2 separate regions of the Homo sapiens genome follow, and region 2 is linked to region 1. Evidence: promoter capture Hi-C in 16 types of primary human blood cells and fetal thymus (Javierre and others, 2016). All regions are on one chromosome and are shown on one strand. Each heading gives the region's core, a stretch centred on a gene start or on the middle of the fragment in contact. The rest is flanking DNA. Distances are from core to core; before and after follow the strand shown. Region 1 has its middle 2.8 kb from the start of ACTG1. Region 2 holds the start of TMEM105 (TMEM105 long non-coding RNA).

Region 1 (4,484 bases), core at 873-3,372:
CGTCCCTGGGCGCGGGGGAGCTCTCAGGAGCCCTCACCTCGCCCCGGTCACCATAGGAAACAGCCCGCCCGTCCCCAAGCGCAGCCACCACCATGCAGGTCCCTCCACGGGGCGCCCTGCCCCGGATCTCCGTTCGTTTGAAGACCGAGGCCCCTTTCTACCCGACCCGACACATCCCTGCCCCTCAAATCACAGGCCTGATTGTCCCCAGGCGCGCGCTCCGGGTTGGGGCTACCCCGCCCCCTTATGTGCTGAGAAGGTGGTGTGGAGTGAGGCCTTTGTTTCATTCTGGTCACCTGTAGACATTATAGGGAAACTGAGGTAGACAATGGGAGCCCTGACTTTTTTGAAGGTCGGCTCCCCAGCTTCGGGCGGTCGGGGGGATACCCTCTTCTGTTTACGATGCTAGTTAAGAGCAGCGATCAGGGCTGGCGTGGGTTTAGCCACAGGCTTGTCCAGGGCGCTCACTCCTCGCCAGGAGCGGCGCCGGTGCTTTGGTTACACCCCGAGAGGCGCCCGGCACTACGGTTTCCTTGTGCGCTGCTGGAATTTTCAGGGTTGGAGCGCCGGCCGCGTAGGGGTGGCAGTGAGGCCGCGCAGTGAGGGGACGGACTCGCCCGAGGTCGCAGAGCGTTCAGATTGACTCGACAGGCTGGGGGGCGGGGCCGGGGTCCCCACGCGGAGTCCGGGGCCCTGCAACGTTAGCTCGCGACCCCGTGTTTGGGAGTGACAACAGCGAGTCAGGGCAAGGCGGCCGGCCCAGCTCACCTGCGGGCTGCAGTCAGCCCGGACGCCGAGACCCGTGCCTAAGGCCCCCGTGCCCCAGGCCTCCCAGGGGTGCTGAGCGCCCCCAGGCCCAGAATCTCCGGGGGCCCGGGCAAGGCTGTCAGGTATGTTCCCTCCCGTGGCGAAGCCGGGGCTGGGCCTCCAACAGACCCACCCGGACTCGCGTCCCTGGGCAGAACCACACAGCCTGCTCGACCCCCGGGTGAGGACTTCCACTTGGGGGGTCCCAAGATGCGACGTCACACACCGAGGGACACGAGGCGGGTGGGGAATAGCCACAAGCCCCTCCATCCTGCGTTCACCCCACACTACGTTCTGCTCCGGGCCGGCCGGGGACCCTGCCCCTCCGGGTCTCTGGTCTCCTCCGAAGCTTCTTTGTCTAGGAAGTGCGGGGAGGTGCCGGCCCCGGGCGCGCGTCCCCGTCCCCCACCTTTCTTCCCCACGTTGCGGACCCGAGGCCGCCAGGGTCGTGGGGGCGGGGGCGAGGCTGGCGCCTCGAGACCCCCGGGTTCCCCGCCACCCGCAGGGCCTGAGCCGCGGGGAGGGGCGGGGAGGGGACGCCGCCGCGGGCCGGGGGTGGAGAGCGACTTCCTCCTCCGCGGCCGCGTCACGCGGCAGGGGTCAAGGTGTGGCCCAGGTACGCGGCGGGGGGCGGTGGCGCGGCCATATTTGGCGACTTCGGCGCCGCCGGAGCCCCGCCCGCCTCCGCCGGGAAGCCCGGCCCGGGGCAGCGCCATCCCCGCCCGCCGCCGGGCCTGAGTCACGGCGGGCGGGGGGCGGAAGTAACGGACGGGGGGCGCCCGCCCGGCGCTCCTGGCCTTATTTAGTCAAGGAGGCCGCCGATTGGCGCGCGGGACAGAGGGGCGGCGGCCGGGCAGCCTCGGGGCGTAGGAGTGGCCCGGCGCCTCCGAGGGGTCGGGGCGGGAGCCGGGCGTGGGGGGCCTCGGAGCCTGGGGAGTCCCGGGACCGACGGCGGCGGGGATGCGGGTCTGCCTGTCCCTGGGATGCGGGCGGGCGGGCAGGGCGAGGCCTGGAGCCCGCGGGGCGCAGGGGGCTGGACCGCGCGCTGTGATTTTTCTGTTTAGCAGCGGGGCCTCGCCCAAGGTCGCGCGGGGCCTGTCCTGGATATGCTCTGGGAAGCCAGTGGCGCAGGGCAGCCGCCACCCTTCTGGAACCAGTGCCGGAGAGGGCCGGGCAGCTGGGCCTGGGGAGGGGACCGCATGGATGGAGCTGGGGGTAGCTGGGCGGCCTCCGGAGCCGGGAGAGTCGGCAGCTGCACTTCCGCCAGAGGTGGGTGTGTCCTTCACATTTCAGGAAGGGAGACTTGGGGCCTGGAGAAGCGATGTGATTTTTCTTTTCTAGTTCAGTGCTGGTTTTGATGGCTTTTTATCATGACCTTGTTATGTCTTATTTTAGTTTCGGCCCATTTAGTGGATACGACAACAGTGGCCCAGGGAGGTATGGCAGAGCTGAGGCTTAACCCAGGGCCTGCGCCCTCCACGGCCTGCACTGCCCCACCTCCAGCTCCTTGCCCTGTTCCTCCCTCTGCACCGGATCAGCCCCCGGACTCTGGGTCACCTCCACACCAGTTGACAGGGCCCCCCAGTCCCCACCGCCAACCACCTGGCCGGCTACTTGTCAGACAGACATGGGGGCGTGGGCATGGGTCCCCACCCCTAGCCTTTGCCTCTGTCACTCTACCTGCCTGGAATGTCTACTTTTTCTTTATATTTTATTTTATTGTATTTTTGAGACAGTCTCATTGTCGCCCAGGCTGGAGCGCAGTGGCGCGATCTTGGCTCGCTGCAACCTCTGTCTCCGGGGTTCAAGCGATTCTCGGGCCTTAGCCTCCCGAGTAGCTGAGACTACAGGCGTGCACCACCATGCCTGGCTAATTTTTGCATTTTTGGTGGAGACAGGGTTTCACCATGTTGGCCAGGCTGGCCTGAACTCCTGACCTTAAGTGATCCACTCGCCTAGGCCTTCCAAAGTGCTGGGATTACAGGCGTGAGCCACCTCACCCAGCCTGGAGTGTCTCATCTTCCACCACTAAATGAAACGATGGACCCTGAACAGAAAAAGGAACAGTGGTGGAAGAACTAGCAAAGCCCACAGCCTTGAGTTTGGCCGTAAGTATCAAGGTTAATCTCTCAGTTATGGCAGTTGTCCCATGACCGTGTAAGATGCCAGGTTAGGGGACACTGGGAATAGAGCATTGGGAAACCTTCCCACTGTCTTTGCAACTTTTCTGTAAGTTTAAAGTTCTCCCATAATAAAAAGCTAACTTGAATCCAAGGCAAGCAAAGCTTCCCTACTCTCAGCCCACCTCCCTCTTCTCCCACACCCTTTTGGACAGATGAAATGCAAGGTGATGGCCCTGTTTCCTGAAGCTCTTTCCAGGGCCTGGCTGGCTCCCTTGGGCAGGTCTGGAGTGGGCTCTGCCTCTTCAGGAACAGTGGTCCCAAGGCTGGTCCCGGTGGGCAAGGCTGGTTTCCTGCAACTCGGCCTGGCTGCCTCTGAGTTTTGGCTCAAGGGACAAGGCCAGGGTCCCACACTTCTGTCTCCTGGCTGGTGCCCAGCTTGGGGCTTGGTTCTCCTGCCCCACTGCGCAGACTGAAGCTCAGAAGGCTCAGCTGGCTGCCCCCCACCCCACCCCTGCGGAGTCACTGGGCAGCTGGCTGTGAGTGGCCAGGTGCTGCTTGTTTGGTCCCAGGACCAGGTCTCTGCATGTGTTGTCCAATTCTCACCTGGTCCCCAGACCAGGTCTCTGCATGTTTTGTCCAATTCTCACCTGGTCCCCAGACCAGGTCTCTGCATGTTTTGTCCAATTCTCACCACTGGAGGAGAGTCCCAGACTGTGGAGTTTTCACAGGGAGGGAAACTGAGGCAGTCTCCTGGGTCAGGGTAATTAGCCAGAAACAAGGTCACATTCTGGGAGGTCAGAAGGTTCTGGAGGGCGGTGTGGGCACTCTACACGAGGGTTAGGGGCTTGAATGCACACAGACACTCAGGCCGAGAGTCCCTCAACCCCACTCCCCTGCCCCGCCCCACCCCCGCTGCTCCAGGCCTTCTGGAGACAGGATCCCTGTTGCAGTTTACCTGAGGCTCCCCATCCCCGCTGTGAGCAGGAACCAAGGAGGCCCCTGGAAGAGCCCTGAGCTGGGAGTCGGACACCTGGGTTCTGGGCCCGGCTCAGCCCTGTGCCTGCCACGTGACCTCTCTGTACCCCAGTTCCTGTCAAAAAAGAGGAGAGGGCTCTGCGATGTGAGATGTGTGGCCCATCAGGGGCTCTGAGGCTGCTTGCCCTCCCGTGTGGACAGGAAGTCTGGGGACAGGAGGCCGTCAGGTGGCCCAGCAAACCCCCCAGGCGTCTTGCCTGACACCCAGGGGCTCAGTTTTCGGTGATGAGTAAGACGTGCTCAGTGCCTCTGTGTGTCGTGTGTGAGACCTGAGACCAGGGTGCCTGCTCCTCCCTCTGTTCCCAAGGGCATAGCCCCAGGCCCGTTTGTGACCCTCCACTGGGCCCGAGAAGAAGGCTCCTTTCCCCAGGCCTCATTCCCCTGTGGCCTCCCAGAGCCGCACGGAGTGGGGAGGGTCTGCTCTCCACCTGGCCATTGTGGACCCCACCCCAGGAGCTCCGGCCGCCCCCCCCCCCTCCAGTCCCACTCCTTCCTCCCCAGAGGCAGCGAGGCCTGAAG
Region 2 (4,484 bases), core at 885-3,384, 180 kb before region 1:
GGCATTCTGTGTGCCCCAGAGCCTGAGTTCGCAGGCTCTCAGCAGCCCGTGCTGGGCAGCAGTGTGGGCGTCTCTCCCGCAGGGCACCCTCTGCACTTTCCTGCAGACCTGCAGCAGCCCTTTCCTGAGGGACACCTGGCTCCGGGCCCAGGGTGGGGGCGGGGCCTCGCGTGTCTCCCCCTTGATTTGTAAGAGTCCAGGGCTGTCGGCCATGGCCACACTGAGCACCCCTGGGAGCCAAGGCAGCTTAAGGACAAGGTGTGTATGAGGACGGCGGGGCCCAGGGAGGAGAGGCTAGCCCAGGGCTACCCGGGTCCCCGGAGTAGGGGCAGGGGACTTGAAAATGAGCCCCCAAGGGGCTCTGATGGGGGCAATTCCAGGAGAGGCGTGGGCAGGTGTGGGGCTGGAGAGAGGCCTGTCCTTTTTCCCTTGCCCTGCACACTGTCTGCAGGGTGGCAGACCCAGGCTGCCTGGCGAGGCTGCTTCTGGAGGCCTGAGGAAGGCTGGGCTGAGGACTCCGCCTCTCCTCAAAGCCACAGCCTCCCTGCTCTGGGGCTACATGTCGGGAAAATCCCTGCCTGGGTTACCCCAGCTGGGGACTCAAGCTCTCTTTGGACCCTACAGAAAGAGCTGGCCAGCCCCCAGGCCAGAAGGGCCGTCCGTGACCCACAGATGGCCCCAACACACTGTAAAACACGCATGATTTATTTTAGTGTGTGTTAGAAAAATAAAGCCAACACATCAAGCCTGCAATTTCGCAGATACTAACACTTCGGACCAGGAAAAAAGAAGCCCATGACATGGCACAGCGCTGTGGAGCGAGCGAGATCTGGGATGCGTAGGCCTGGACGGCTGAGGCTTGGAAACCCCTCCCCTCCCCAAACTTTCCCACCATGCAGGGGCCCAGCAGGCCCTCAGCCCACTCACCCCGCCAGAGGAGGGAGGAGGGAGGAGGGTCCGGGCCAGGTGGGAGCTTCTCCCCGGAGGCCTGAGGCAGCTTCCCTCCTCTCCCAGGAAGGGGCTGGCCCAGGCCCAGCTAGGATGCTCCCAGCCCAGCTCCTACCCGCCGGGTCTTTCCCGTTTGTCAGGCAGGCCGGCAGGCTGGGCTGGTGACTCATGACTGGCTGGGCCATCTGCCCTGCACCCCTGCCCCGGGCGAAGTGAGAAACCTGACCGGGCTCCAGCACAGACAGGAAACCCCACCCCAGGGCCTGCAGTGGGACAGGTGTGGCCGCCCTCCACCCCCACACAGGCCTCGGGGAGGGTGTCTGAGGCCGGCCTGGCCCTCTCTGCAGCACTGAAACACCAGCTGCCTCTCCCCAGCCCGGAACTGGGGATCCAGTGTCCTCCGCACTGACCCCAGGCTCTGCTCTCCCTGGGAAGCACCCGCTTTGACAGTGGGGCCAAGGACTGGGGTTCCCACCCTCCTCTGCCCAGTGGACTTTGTGGCCCCAGGCAGGTGGCATCAGCTCTCTGGGCCTAAGCTTCTCATCTCTGCAGGGTTCATCAGCTCAACAAGCATTTGTGGGTTCCTGAGACCTGAAGGCTCCACTCCCCCACCTAAGCACACAACAGTCCAGGCACCACCCACATCTCCCTCTTACCTGGAGCAGAGGGGCGGGTGTTCGGAGCCTTGGGGCCCAGGGTCATTTGCACTGGAGGGGGCCAGGAACGCTCCCAGGAGTGTGGCAGTCCCTTCCTAGGGGGCCCCTCCTGGAGCAGCTGCCTTGAGAGCCCAGCCTACAGCAGAGCCTGGTGGGGTGGCCGGGCTACTGCTACCTGGCTTCACTGCTTTCTTCTGCCATTCCTCCCAGGCTACCCAGGAGGACGAGAGGGGCAGGGTACTGGCGGCAGCAAGAGAGAACCCGCCCAGGAGGGCCCAGCACGGGAACTCCAGCCTCCAGAGCCAGCAGAGCCACGGGAACAGGAGTTCCTCCTCACAGAGGAGGCGCTGTTGGAGGGCCAGGAGCAAACTCCCAGCAGAGCAAAATGCAGAGGTGACCAGCCCAGGGCACACCAGCCACTGAAAAACCCAACAGTGGGGGCTGCCGTGGGGATCCAGGGTTGGGGGACTCTCAGACGGCCCCCCAGGCTTGTCCCCATGCGTATTCTTTGAGCTGATGGGGACGCAGTGTTCACAGTCCTGACAGGAGGCAGGCGTGACCCCAGTCGGGGAGTGGACTTGGCCCTCTTCACACCCCCAGGGCAGAAAGCCCTGTTCAGAGGTACCAGGGAGCAGGCACAGGCCAGGGTCCGAATTCGTAACAAGCATCCGGGACTCCACATGACGCAGGTCTGAGAATCGATCCCGGGTTCCAGCCCAGCCATCATTTTCAGAGAATACGGGCCCTGTCCCGAGCCGCCAGCCATTGCCAATGGCTGCCCGGAGGAAGGGAGGAAGGGGTGCCCCCAGCTTGTGGAACCAACAAGGGCTTAATGGTAGGGCACGCCCAGGGGCAGACGCCAAGAAAGGAGAGGAGGGGGCGGGGGCTCCGGCCAGGGAAGCCGTGTCCTCTGCACCAGGCAGAACAGGGGGCTGGGCCGCCCTCAGCCTGGATCTGGCCAGGGCTGGGATGCCAGCTCTGAGAACAGGGCCCAGCCCTCACCTGCTTGGTTTGCCTCTTGCCAGGGGAAGGGGCTCAGGAAGGTTTCTGAGCTGCCCCATGCCCCTGCCTGGAGTTCCTGACCCTCGGGGGAAGCTGAGGCTACAGAGAGCACGAAGTGCAAAAGGCCTGGTGGTTGGACCCAGAGCCCCTGTCCCTGGGTCCCCGCTCCTCCCCACCACCCCGTCCCAGCTCTCCCACGCTCCCACGAGGCCACATCATCTTCTGCTCCTGCTGAGTTCCCCTTCACGCATATGAAAAGCAAATTACAGGAGGGAGAAGGCAAACCCGGGGTGAACGGGGGCCTCCTGGGACTCCTTGGACCCCCGGGAGAGCCTGTGAGGGCTTCTATGGGCCGACTGGGATCTCAGGAGCAAAATAGGGGCCCCTAGCCCACAGCGGAGGGCGACTCTAATCAGCAGAGATCGCCCAGCATGCCTTATCCTCAGCAGCTCAGGGCCACCTGTGGGGCAGGGGGAGGGGGCCTGGCCAGCTGGGTCGGCCGCCCCCGGCAAAGCCAGGGGACGCCAGGAGCGGAGCTGTGTGGTGCAGAGCAACTGTGTCCCAGGGGAGGGGGGGTCTGTCTCCGCTCCTCCCAGCTGCAGGCCCTGGGCAGCCGCAACCTCTCAGAGCCTGCCTGCCCCTCTCCTGAGGTCTGGATTTTGCCAGCACAGAGCAGGGACCTCAGCAATATGCCCAGCCTGGCGCAGGCCCAGGGCAGGCCCTCTATCCGCAGGGCATCCTCTGGTCTACAAGTTCTGTGACGACGTGGCTGGCACCAGGGTCTGAGGGCTTTGATGCTGGGGAACGTCCTTGCGCCTCTGCAGTAGATGTGAAAGTCTGTGGAGCCCGGGGACCTGGAGCAGGTGGCCTGGGTGGGGCTGCTGCCTTCTGGGCCAGGACCAGATTCCACTCCCTGGCTGGACAGCCCTGGGCACAGCGTTTAAACACCCAACACTTCAACTCTGCTCTGTGAAACGGGGATGATTCTAACAGTGCTGGATCACGGCATGGTTGGGAGGCTTGGGTGAGGTCATGTGTTCCATGATCCTGTCCACACGAAGGTCATGCAGCCTTGGGGGGCACTGGAGCGGCAGGTGTGGTTTTGGGGACCTGCCACGGGCCACAGCCCTAGACCAAGCCGGACCATCGGGACTCTTTTCCTGGAATTTGAATGCTGAGCCGAGGGACACTGGGCTTGTGCTGGGGCCACTCCCGAGCCGCTGCTGTTGGGGCCTGAACAGCGCCTTCCCCCTGCCCTCCCTGCTGCAAGCTCCAACCAAATACCTGCTCCCGGCTTCAGTTAGTCAGAGTCCACTTCTGGCACCTGCAGTCAAATTTATTGATTGATTGATTTGAGAGAGTCTTGCTCTGTTGCCCAGGCTGCAGGGCAGTGGTGAGAATAAGGCTCACTGCAGCTTCGACCTCCTGGACTCAAGCGATCCTCGGCTTCCCAAGTAGCTGGGTCTACAGGCACACACCACCACGCCTGGCTAATTTTTGTGTTTTTTGCAGAGATGGGGTCTCACTATGTTGTCCAGCCTGGGCTCAAGCAATCCTCCTGCCCTGGCTTCCCAAAGTGCTAGAATTACAGGCATGAACCACCATGCCAGCCGAAAGTGTCTCTGCACATCTGCACAAATAAAATGTATTTCTGTACGTACACTGATTTGTACCCAGAAGCCCTTTTAAAAAATATTGTGTCACCTTGGCTTCCTCTCTTACTTCTTGCTCCCCCTTTATGTAAAACTGCTGAATCTTTTGAGTGTCAGTTGCAGACACCTTGACACTTCACCCTAAATACTGTAGCATCAAATGTCTAAGAACACCTGCCTGCCTCCAGCAGCACGCCTGGGGAAACGCAGTGCCACACAGAACGAT

The links. Contacts are between HindIII fragments. The CHiCAGO score rates a contact against its expected background, and 5 or more counts as called.
Region 2: the fragment with the promoter of TMEM105 here is called in contact with a fragment that was not itself captured in region 1 in 2 of 17 cell types (endothelial precursors and monocytes); the score reaches 6.1 in endothelial precursors.

The regions. Positions count from the first base shown.
Region 1 is chr17:81,513,331-81,517,814 of GRCh38, forward strand. It overlaps a transcript of FSCN2 not described here. Among named protein-coding and RNA genes, the nearest start is that of ACTG1, 2.8 kb to the left of the region's middle. RefSeq lists silencers at 1-74, 705-894, 1,115-1,834, 1,905-1,954 and enhancers at 215-494, 525-574, 1,717-2,340, 2,341-2,966, 3,075-3,124 and 3 more. The HindIII fragment of the contact is 1,936 bases long and covers 1,155-3,090 here.
Region 2 is chr17:81,328,540-81,333,023 of GRCh38, forward strand. TMEM105 (TMEM105 long non-coding RNA) reads right to left here and starts at 2,135. Exons shown (of 3, transcript NR_165247.1): 1 at 1,605-2,135. RefSeq lists enhancers at 1-475, 476-1,047, 1,048-1,617, 2,761-3,331, 3,332-3,902. The HindIII fragment of the contact is 4,997 bases long and covers 1,483-4,484 here.